Linked DNA regions of Homo sapiens: all the other regions are linked to region 1. The links are contacts of gene promoters, found by promoter capture Hi-C in blood cells and fetal thymus (Javierre and others, 2016). All regions are on one chromosome and are shown on one strand. The core of a region is centred on a gene start or on the middle of the fragment in contact, and the rest is flanking DNA. Distances in the headings are between cores, read along the strand shown. Region 1 holds the start of EBP (EBP cholestenol delta-isomerase). Region 2 overlaps UBA1 (ubiquitin like modifier activating enzyme 1). Region 3 overlaps USP11 (ubiquitin specific peptidase 11).

Region 1 (2,783 bases), core at 284-2,783:
CCTCACGATCCGCCCGCCTCAGCCTCCCAAAGTGCTGGGATTACAGGCGTGAGCCACTGCGCCCGGCCTACATTCTGTTTTAAGACCATGACTAAAGGCCAGGCACCGTGGCAGGTAATTCCAGTGCTTTGGGAGGCTGATGCAGGAGCAGCACCTGAGGCCAGGAATTCAAGTCCGGCCTGGGCAACACAGCGAAACTGTCTCTAAAAAAATAAGAAAATCAGTCAGGTGTGGTGACAAAGGCCTGTAGTCCCAGCTAGTAGGTAGGCTGAGGCAGGAGGATCGCTTTGAGCCCAGGACTTCAAGGCTGAAGTGAGCAGTGACCACATCACTGCCCTCCAGTCTGAGACTCTGCCTCTAAAAAAGAAGGCCGGGCGCGGTGGCTCACGCCTGTAATCCCAGCACTTTGGGAGGCCAAGACGAGTGGACCACTTGAGCTCAGGAGTTCAAGACCAGCCCGGCCAACATGGCAAAACCCCGTCTCTACTAAAAATACAAAAATTAGCCAGGTGTGGTGGCGTGCGCCTGTAGTTACAGCTACTCAGGAGGCTGAGGCAGGAGAATCGCTTGAACCTGGGAGGCAGAGGCTGCAGTGAGCCGGGGTCATGCCACTGCACTCCAGCCTGGGCAACAGAGCGAGACTCTGTCTCAAAATAAAATAAAAAAGAAAAGAAAAAGAACATGACTGAAACACAAGGCCACAGAAAGGCTGAAAGCTTGTTCCAGCCCTTTAGAAGCCATATTATGATGTGGTAGAAACAGTCCCGGTCTCAGCCCTCGGGGGTCAAAGTCTGGTGGGAGGCACATGGGAACAACACCTGATCCCAGCCCTCCCTGGTCACAGTCTGGCGAGGGAGATACAGGACCAGGCCTGGTGTCTTCCTTCAAGGGTCACAAACTGCTCACGACCACCAAACCCAGTCCTGTGCTCCGGGGTCACGGTTTGGTAAGAGACACAGGAACCAGGCGTGGTCCAGTTGCACAGGTCAGCGTCTTAAACCGTTCAACAAAAAGCTATTCCCTCCCCCACGTAGTCCTGAAAACTGCAACTGGGGGACAGAGGAAAGAAAACGAATCAGAACTACAACCCTCGGTGCCAGCGTTTGGAAAGCCAGAGCCTCCCCGCGAGAGCGTGCAACGCCGTCAACCTGCAGGGAAGAGACGGATATTGAAAGGCCGGTGTCTGGCGTGCAGCGCTAGAACGGAACACAAAGCCGGTCAATCCGAACCAGAACCCTCCAGTCCCGCTGCCCAATGAGAAGACGGATCTTCTGTCCTCTGGACAACCGTGCGGTAGCTGGGGGTCTCGCGCAGGCGCAAAAGGGCGGTGGGGGGGGCGGGTGGCAAAGGGTCTCGCGCTGGCACGCCGAGGGCTGGCCGCGTAGCCGGGGAGAGCTGGGGGAGGGAGCAGGGGCCGGGTGGAGGGCACTCACCAAGGCGCGCGACGGCAGCGGCCTCCCACGCTGGCTCCGGGCTCTCTTTAGGCTGGGTCTCGCGCTCTGTCACATCCCTAGTTCGGGCTCATCCCCTAGTGGGTTCTCTTGCCTTACGGAGCGAGCCAATGGTGAAGCGAAGAAGGCGGCCCGTGCCGCTCCCAACCAATAGACACTCTCTTTGTACCTCTAGCCCCGCCCCCGCGCGTGGCGCCATTTTCACCTGAGTTAGGTTTGGGGTGGAGACTGGGACGCGCCAAGGTTAGTGGGCGTTTTGGATCCGTAGCCAATCTGCATCGAGTCCTGGCTTCAATTTCCCCATTCCCTTATCAGTCGATCAAAACGGGGACTCATTAAGGTCTGTACCCGCTTCTTCCGCTGGTGAAATTAGCGTTGCGTTGCATCCTTTCACCTCCGCCCTTTTCTAGGTAGAGTAACCCTTAGTATAATGCAACGAAACTGTTACAAGCAGATCACACGCTATACACTGCAACCACCCCCTCCCCAGCTCTTCAGTGCTCAGAACTCCTCAGTCCTAATAGCAGCGGTCATTCTCTCTTCTCCCGACCTCAAGTCAGAAGAACTAGTTAGAACCCAGGCCTCTCAGTCCTACTGACCAATTGGCATGAAGACCCTCAATCTCCATATGCCAGTTCTAAAAAGCCAATCAAACGCCTAACCACCAGTGGGCCCCCAGATGGAGCAATCAATCAGAATCCAGACCCATCCCAGACCTCCCATCCAATTAGAACCCACAACCCTCAGTCCTAAGGATAAATAGGCACCAACCCTTCATCTCTCTTGCTTTCTCTCCTCTGTGTCCCACTCAGAGCAACCAATCAGAATGGGGATCCTTCAGTTTTCCAGCCAATCAGGCCTCCCCCACATCCAACTATGCAATCTGTCCCTGCCCTGATCAAACCAAGCAGGACCAGGATCCTGCCATCTTCAGGCTCATCATCTAATCAATCATAAACTAACCATGAACCAATCACAGTCTGCTCTCTCTTCATGGTTTCCAGCTTCCAAACCTTTATCCATGCTGTGCTCCCTTCCTCACTCATTCCTATTCCCCTCTGAGCAGTGAAGAAGAAGCCTATTGAATATTTCCTACTTTTATTTGACAATAACAAATTGTATATAAAAAGGAAGAAGGAAGGCGGGGAGGCCCTGGATCTCCCCTTCTCTGTTTCCCCAAGCATCCCCCTCTAGGCCCCAGCAGGCACCACCCCCTTCCTGCCTTGTGGTGGGGTGGGGATTGACAGGCATGAAAATGGTGTGATTTTGTGTGTGTGTGTGTGTGTGTGTGTTGAGGTGTTGGGGGTCAAGGATGGAGGGGGTCAAGGAGTA
Region 2 (2,783 bases), core at 162-2,661, 1.3 Mb after region 1:
AACACAGTACCTCTCCCCCATGCCCACCAGCTCTTATTGGACCCCACAGGATTGTCTGTAGTTCATCTCAAACACCAGGATGTGTCTTCCCAACTCTGAACCAAGGGCCATGTCTTCTCCCTTCAACTCCCCGGCCAGAACCCAGGAACATATCTTCTAGTTCCCCTCTGCTTCCCCCATGGTCGCAGCTCACCCAGGACTTTGATCTCCATGGGCTGATTTCCGTTGAGTTCAACCATGCCCTGTACTTCTGAAAAGGAGACAAAGTCCCCGCTCTCAAACCCGTGTCGGGCCTCATCCAGGCAGGTAACCACACCGGGGTTGTCCTGGTTAAAGGAAGAGTGAGTCTCAGAAACAGGCCCAGGGTACCAAGAGCAGACAGGAAGGACTACTGCAGCCCACCTGCCTGCCAGGAACCCTAGGGCTGGTCTCCTTACCTTGGTAACCATAGAAACCATAGCACTGAGTGGCTGCTCCCCATTGGAATCTGTGAGGATCATTTCCTCTCCAAAGTCACAGAAGAGCTGCCTGTAGAGGGAAGCAATAGGGCTGGTGCCTGTGTCCCATGCACATACAGGTCCCACGGGTCCCTCAAGATGTAGTGAAAACTTGCTGAGCAAACTCAGCCTATCACTGCTGGGATGTAAGATGGTACTTGTGCCACATGGGGAGAGATGAAAACACAGAACCCAAAACCTGGGTAGCTGAGAAGGGATGAGGGCAGGGAGAGCCTAGAGTCTTGGCCTGGGCTTGGTAGGAGTTGGGGGAAAAGGGGACAGGGAGGGAGGTGGGCTGCCACTCACCCAAACAGGCCCCGCGTGTCTGCCACCACCAGCTTGATGCCACGGTTGTGACAGAACTCACCCACTCGCAGCTGGTCCTCCAGGGGGGTGTTGGTGAGCACCACCACCTGTGGAGAGATGGAGGCTCAGGCCCAGCATTGGGGTGAAGGGGAAAAAATGGAGGGCTGGTGTGGAGGACTCAGGCAGTCCTCAAGGCAAACACATCCAGGCTTTGCTGGGTCAGCCTCTTTCACAAACACATAGCACCTACTGTGTATCAGACTCTGTGGGGGTCGAAAATGAACCCCTGGACTATACCAGGAAAGGTGAAGAGGTAGCTGGGAGGAGGGAGTTTGGAGAAGAGCTGACTCATTTATTTGACAAACACCCGCTGCTGTCTGTCTGCCATGCCCTGTGAGACACTGGAGTAAAACTCTGTCTCCAGCCAAAGTCTGAGCTCACTCCTACCACACCCACCTGCTTCCAATTCTCAAGACGACGCCTGCTCCGCCATGATCTTTGGGATTTTGCTCTCTGCCTGAATGTCCATCCTTCCCCACCAGGGTGAGCTCCTACTCCTCCATCAGGATTTAGCTGCAGTGCCCTGGCAACCTGGGATACTCCAGGGACAACTCTCAGCTTCCAGAGCACCTCTTTCCGGCCTGGACTTTTTAATTAACAAACACCCATCCAGTCCTTATATGCCAGCTGCAATTCCACGTGTTTAACCCTCACAAAAAGTCCATGAAGTCAGTGCTGCTACCACGCACTGACTACAAACAGGAAAACAAAGGTACAGGAGATGAAACAACCTGCTTGAAGTCACACTACCAAGGCTGGAGGCCTGCAGCAAGGCAGTATGGCTCTACAGTCTGTGCCCACAACCACTATGCTGTACTGTCTGTACACATCTTCCCCACTTGAAAAGGCGGGGCCAGGCCGGGTGCGGTGGCTCACACCTGTAATCCCAGCACTTTGGGAGGCGGAGGCGGGCGGATCACAAGGTCAGGAGATCGAGACCACCCTGGCTAACACAGTGAAACCCCGTCTCTACTAAAAATACAAAAAAAAATTAGCCGGGCGTGGTGGCAGGCGCCTGTAGTCCCAGCTACTCGGGAGGCTGAGGCAGGAGAATGGCGTGAACCCAGGAGGTGTAGCTTGCAGTGAGCCGAGATCGCGCCACTGCACTCTAGCTTGGGCGACAGAGCAAGACTCCGTCTCAAAAAAAAAAAAAGAAGAAAAGAAAAGGCAGGGCCAGGGGCTAACTGCTGCCTGCATACTCTAGTCCCCCAGCACAAAACCTGACATTCAGGCCGACCCATTAAATCAATATTGAACACTACTGAATAAACCAGAGATGGGCTCTGAGAAAACTGGGCAGAAGGCTGGGTAGTACCCCCAAGATACCTGGAAACCACTAAGGAAGTCCTCAACGAGGGGTCCAGTGTAGGCAGTGACAGGCACATAGCTGTTGAGCTCAGCGAGGCGGGGCTGTGATACCTCGGCCCGGTTTTTACCGATGTCCTCCTCCCGCAGGTAGAACTGTAAGGGTGTGCAGTAGGGAAAAAGATGAAATGGCTGTGGCACCGGGAACAGTGGTGCCTCGGGAAGGGGGAAAGGGGGAAGGGTGCTAGGAAGAGGTACCTGGGAGGAAAGATCAGCCCACTGGGCAGTGCCCTGGTCATGTAGGGTAACAGCCTTGACCCCACCAAGGATGATGTTCTTAGCGATCTCCACGCCCAGGCCCCGCAGGCCTGATACCAGGACACTGGATGTCTGGAGCCGCTTCATTGCCTCATGGCCCAACACATACCTGCCAGGTTAGGGGGTACTCTAGGTCAGGGCCTGCCCCACCCAACCTTATCCTCTCAATGTCCCATTCCACACCCCTCAGCCCGGCCTTGGCCCCACTTACAGCTGCCGGGAGTAAAGGCCCTCGTCTATGTCTGCTTCACTGCCGTTCTTGGCCATTCCCTAGGAATAGAGGAAAAGAACAAGTTT
Region 3 (2,783 bases), core at 181-2,680, 1.3 Mb after region 1:
CAAACCCTTCTGTGCCGGTGGCTCAATGCTCAGACCCAACCCTGCACCCCACACACCACCATCCACCCTTTGTGGCTTTACTTGCCTCCATAGCCAGTCTATGAAGTTAATTTGTTCAGTAAAGCTATAGTTAACAGTACCTTCCAATGCAAAGGTAGGCACTGCTCAACTTCTTTTTAAGAGCAGATTTTGAACAAAAAATAACATTAAAATCACGCTGTAGAGTGGTAAGCAAAACTTCCAGACCTGGTCACAGGCTGAACTTCTATAGATTTCATAGAGGACTGACATTTTACATAATTTTTCACAGAAAATTATTACCATATTGCTTCAAGTCAAAGACACTTTAAAAAAATCATTGTTAACATCTCTGAAATCAGGATGTCTCACAATCTCTGTCAGGCCAGGTGGCAGTCACAACAAAGGTGTCATGGTCTGTATCAATAACACCCAAATTATTATATTTACAGCTGGGTATTCAATTTTTTGGATGCTATCATAAATGGTATCATAAATTTTAATTTTCTAGTTTCTTGCTGCCAGTATATACAGGTACAACTGATCTTGCTAAAGTCACTTAGGTTTATTCGTGCTTCCTCAAATTTGTTGAAATGATATGAAATATGTGCTTATGGAAAAAAGTTGCTAAACAATTCTTTATTTTCTGTCTTCTAGTTTTCTCTTGTGTCTGATTTGTGTTTGAAGATGGTTCATCCCACAAAAGGAAAAAGTGAAAATTTCCAAGGAGGCTATATTATTACAGATTTGAATTTGCCTTAAAATACAAGCTTCTCCCAGAAATTAAATCAGTTGTGATGACCAAATTAATTAACTACCCTCACCCAAATCTGCCAGCTGACAAAAGACAGAAGGTGCAAATATTAATACTGATACAAGATATATGATTTGGGGTTAGTCCATGACTTCAAAATGCTTTATAAACACATATATCCTGGCCACTTAAGCAAACCCCTGTAAAATGGAAAATGGACAGCAATAAAGAACCTTGAGATGCTTTGCTCTTACTAGAGAAGCATTAACAAAGTGGAGTTTAGCAAAAATGCTTCATGATAATACCCATGACAGCAGAGACAAACCGGCTTCAACACTGAACCAACACTGGTGTGGTAATTTTTTTAATGAGGTGAAATTCACATAACATAACATTAACCATCTTAAAGTGAACAATTCAGCGGCATTTAGAACATTCACAATGTTGTACAACCACAACCTCTCCCTAGTTCCAAAATATTTCATCATCCCAAAAGAAAACCCAGTACTGGTGGGGTAATTTTAAAGCGTATTATCAAGGATGACAGGATGTCATGTCCTACCAGTGACACAATCACAAGGCTACAAAGGTAGGAAGAGGCAAGGATCAAAGCCTCAAGGCCCTTTTGAACATCTTCAAATGAGTTACAAAACACTGTGGTTATTTTGTTTATTCTCAGGATGAAATGAGGCTTTTTCTTGCTGGAAAAGTGTGACGTAATGGCAGAAAAACACGGCTTGGGTTTGTATTCCCGATTTGGAAAATCTCAACTCATCTCCCCAGTAACAGAGATACACATTTCACTGGTGTGGTTATTAAAGAACTCTGTAGTGAGTAAACCTCACTCGAAAAAGCCCTAAGGTTAGATGTGTTTGAGGAACAGCAAGAGTCCAATATGGCCGGCCTGGATGGAGACAGGGAGGGAGTGCGTAATCAGAGGAGAGATATGGGAAGACATCAGAATGCAAGCAGGAGACCAGCTTCATAAAGGCTTGCAATTCATTGTAAGGATTTTAGCATCTACGCTGCAAGAGATGGGAAGCTGTTAAGAGTATTTTGAGGAATGGCTGGACATGATACATGTTTTAAAAATAATTACTGCATATGTAAAGAGGAAAATGGTACCTTTACAGTTGAGAAAGCTGGCCAACACTACCATAACCAAGTGATCAAGGTTAACATCACCAATGATGCCATGTGGATACCATGTATTACCCGATGCGAAGATAAGGGCTCACAGTATGCATCCAGTAGAATTTTATATATATGTATTCCATATATGTATAAAGTGAAAGCTTAGACAATACATACCGCTTAGGGATGCATACAGCTGTGGTAAAACATTAAAGAAAAGGAAGAGACTGTTAACTCAAAATTCAGGATAACAGTTTCCCATGGAGCAAGGAGGGGAATTTCCATCTGGGAGGGGCACAGAAGGATTTCTTAAGACAGTGTTCTGAATCTTAACATGGATGGTGAATTCACACGTTTTTATTTATTATTTAATTTTTAAACTTTGAAATAGATTGAGAAAAATGGCAAAAATAATACAGAGAATCCCCATATGTCCTTCATCCAGATTCTCCAAATCTAATATTTTACTCATTTGCTCAATCGTTGTTTCTTTACATGCATTTTTTGGTATTTTTATTTATTTTAAAATGGACAAAAATTGCATATATTTAGAGTGTACAGCATGAAGTTTTGACTTATGTATACATTGTGGAATGACTAAGTCAAGGCAATTAACACATCCATTACGTCACATACTTATTTTTTGGGGGGTGGTAGAACATGTAAAATCTTCTCTCAGTAATTTTCAAGTATACAATGAATTTATTAACTATAGTTGTACAATAGATCTGAACTTATTTTTCTTGTCTAACTGAAATGTTGTATCCTTTGACCAACATCTCCCCAATTTTATTTCCCCTCGCCATATATAAATTTATATATGCTAATTTTTCAGGCATTTGAGAATAAACTGCTTACACGATGCGTTCTTATCCCT

What was found. The method cuts DNA at HindIII sites, captures the fragments that hold promoters and counts their contacts. A CHiCAGO score of 5 or more calls a contact.
Region 2: a fragment that was not itself captured here is called in contact with the fragment with the promoter of EBP in region 1 in 1 of 17 cell types (neutrophils); the score reaches 5.3 in neutrophils.
Region 3: a fragment that was not itself captured here is called in contact with the fragment with the promoter of EBP in region 1 in 1 of 17 cell types (non-activated CD4 T cells); the score reaches 5.4 in non-activated CD4 T cells.

Annotation. Positions count from the first base shown.
Region 1 is chrX:48,520,558-48,523,340 of GRCh38, reverse strand. It overlaps EBP (EBP cholestenol delta-isomerase), which reads right to left and starts at 1,533. Exons shown (of 5, transcript NM_006579.3): 1 at 1,434-1,533. PORCN (porcupine O-acyltransferase) reads right to left here. Exons shown (of 15, transcript NM_203475.3): 15 at 2,533-2,783. RefSeq lists silencers at 1,249-1,428, 1,489-1,718, 2,633-2,692. The HindIII fragment of the contact is 9,622 bases long and covers 719-2,783 here.
Region 2 is chrX:47,199,021-47,201,803 of GRCh38, reverse strand. It overlaps UBA1 (ubiquitin like modifier activating enzyme 1), which reads right to left. Exons shown (of 26, transcript NM_003334.4): 3 at 2,698-2,756; 4 at 2,427-2,595; 5 at 2,190-2,324; 6 at 804-910; 7 at 438-528; 8 at 194-326. Among named protein-coding and RNA genes, the nearest start is that of INE1, 4.4 kb to the left of the region's middle. RefSeq lists an enhancer at 2,411-2,783. The HindIII fragment of the contact is 8,151 bases long and covers 1-2,783 here.
Region 3 is chrX:47,234,524-47,237,306 of GRCh38, reverse strand. The region is part of intron 1 of USP11 (ubiquitin specific peptidase 11); the gene reads right to left. Among named protein-coding and RNA genes, the nearest start is that of USP11, 2.9 kb to the right of the region's middle. The HindIII fragment of the contact is 1,279 bases long and covers 791-2,069 here.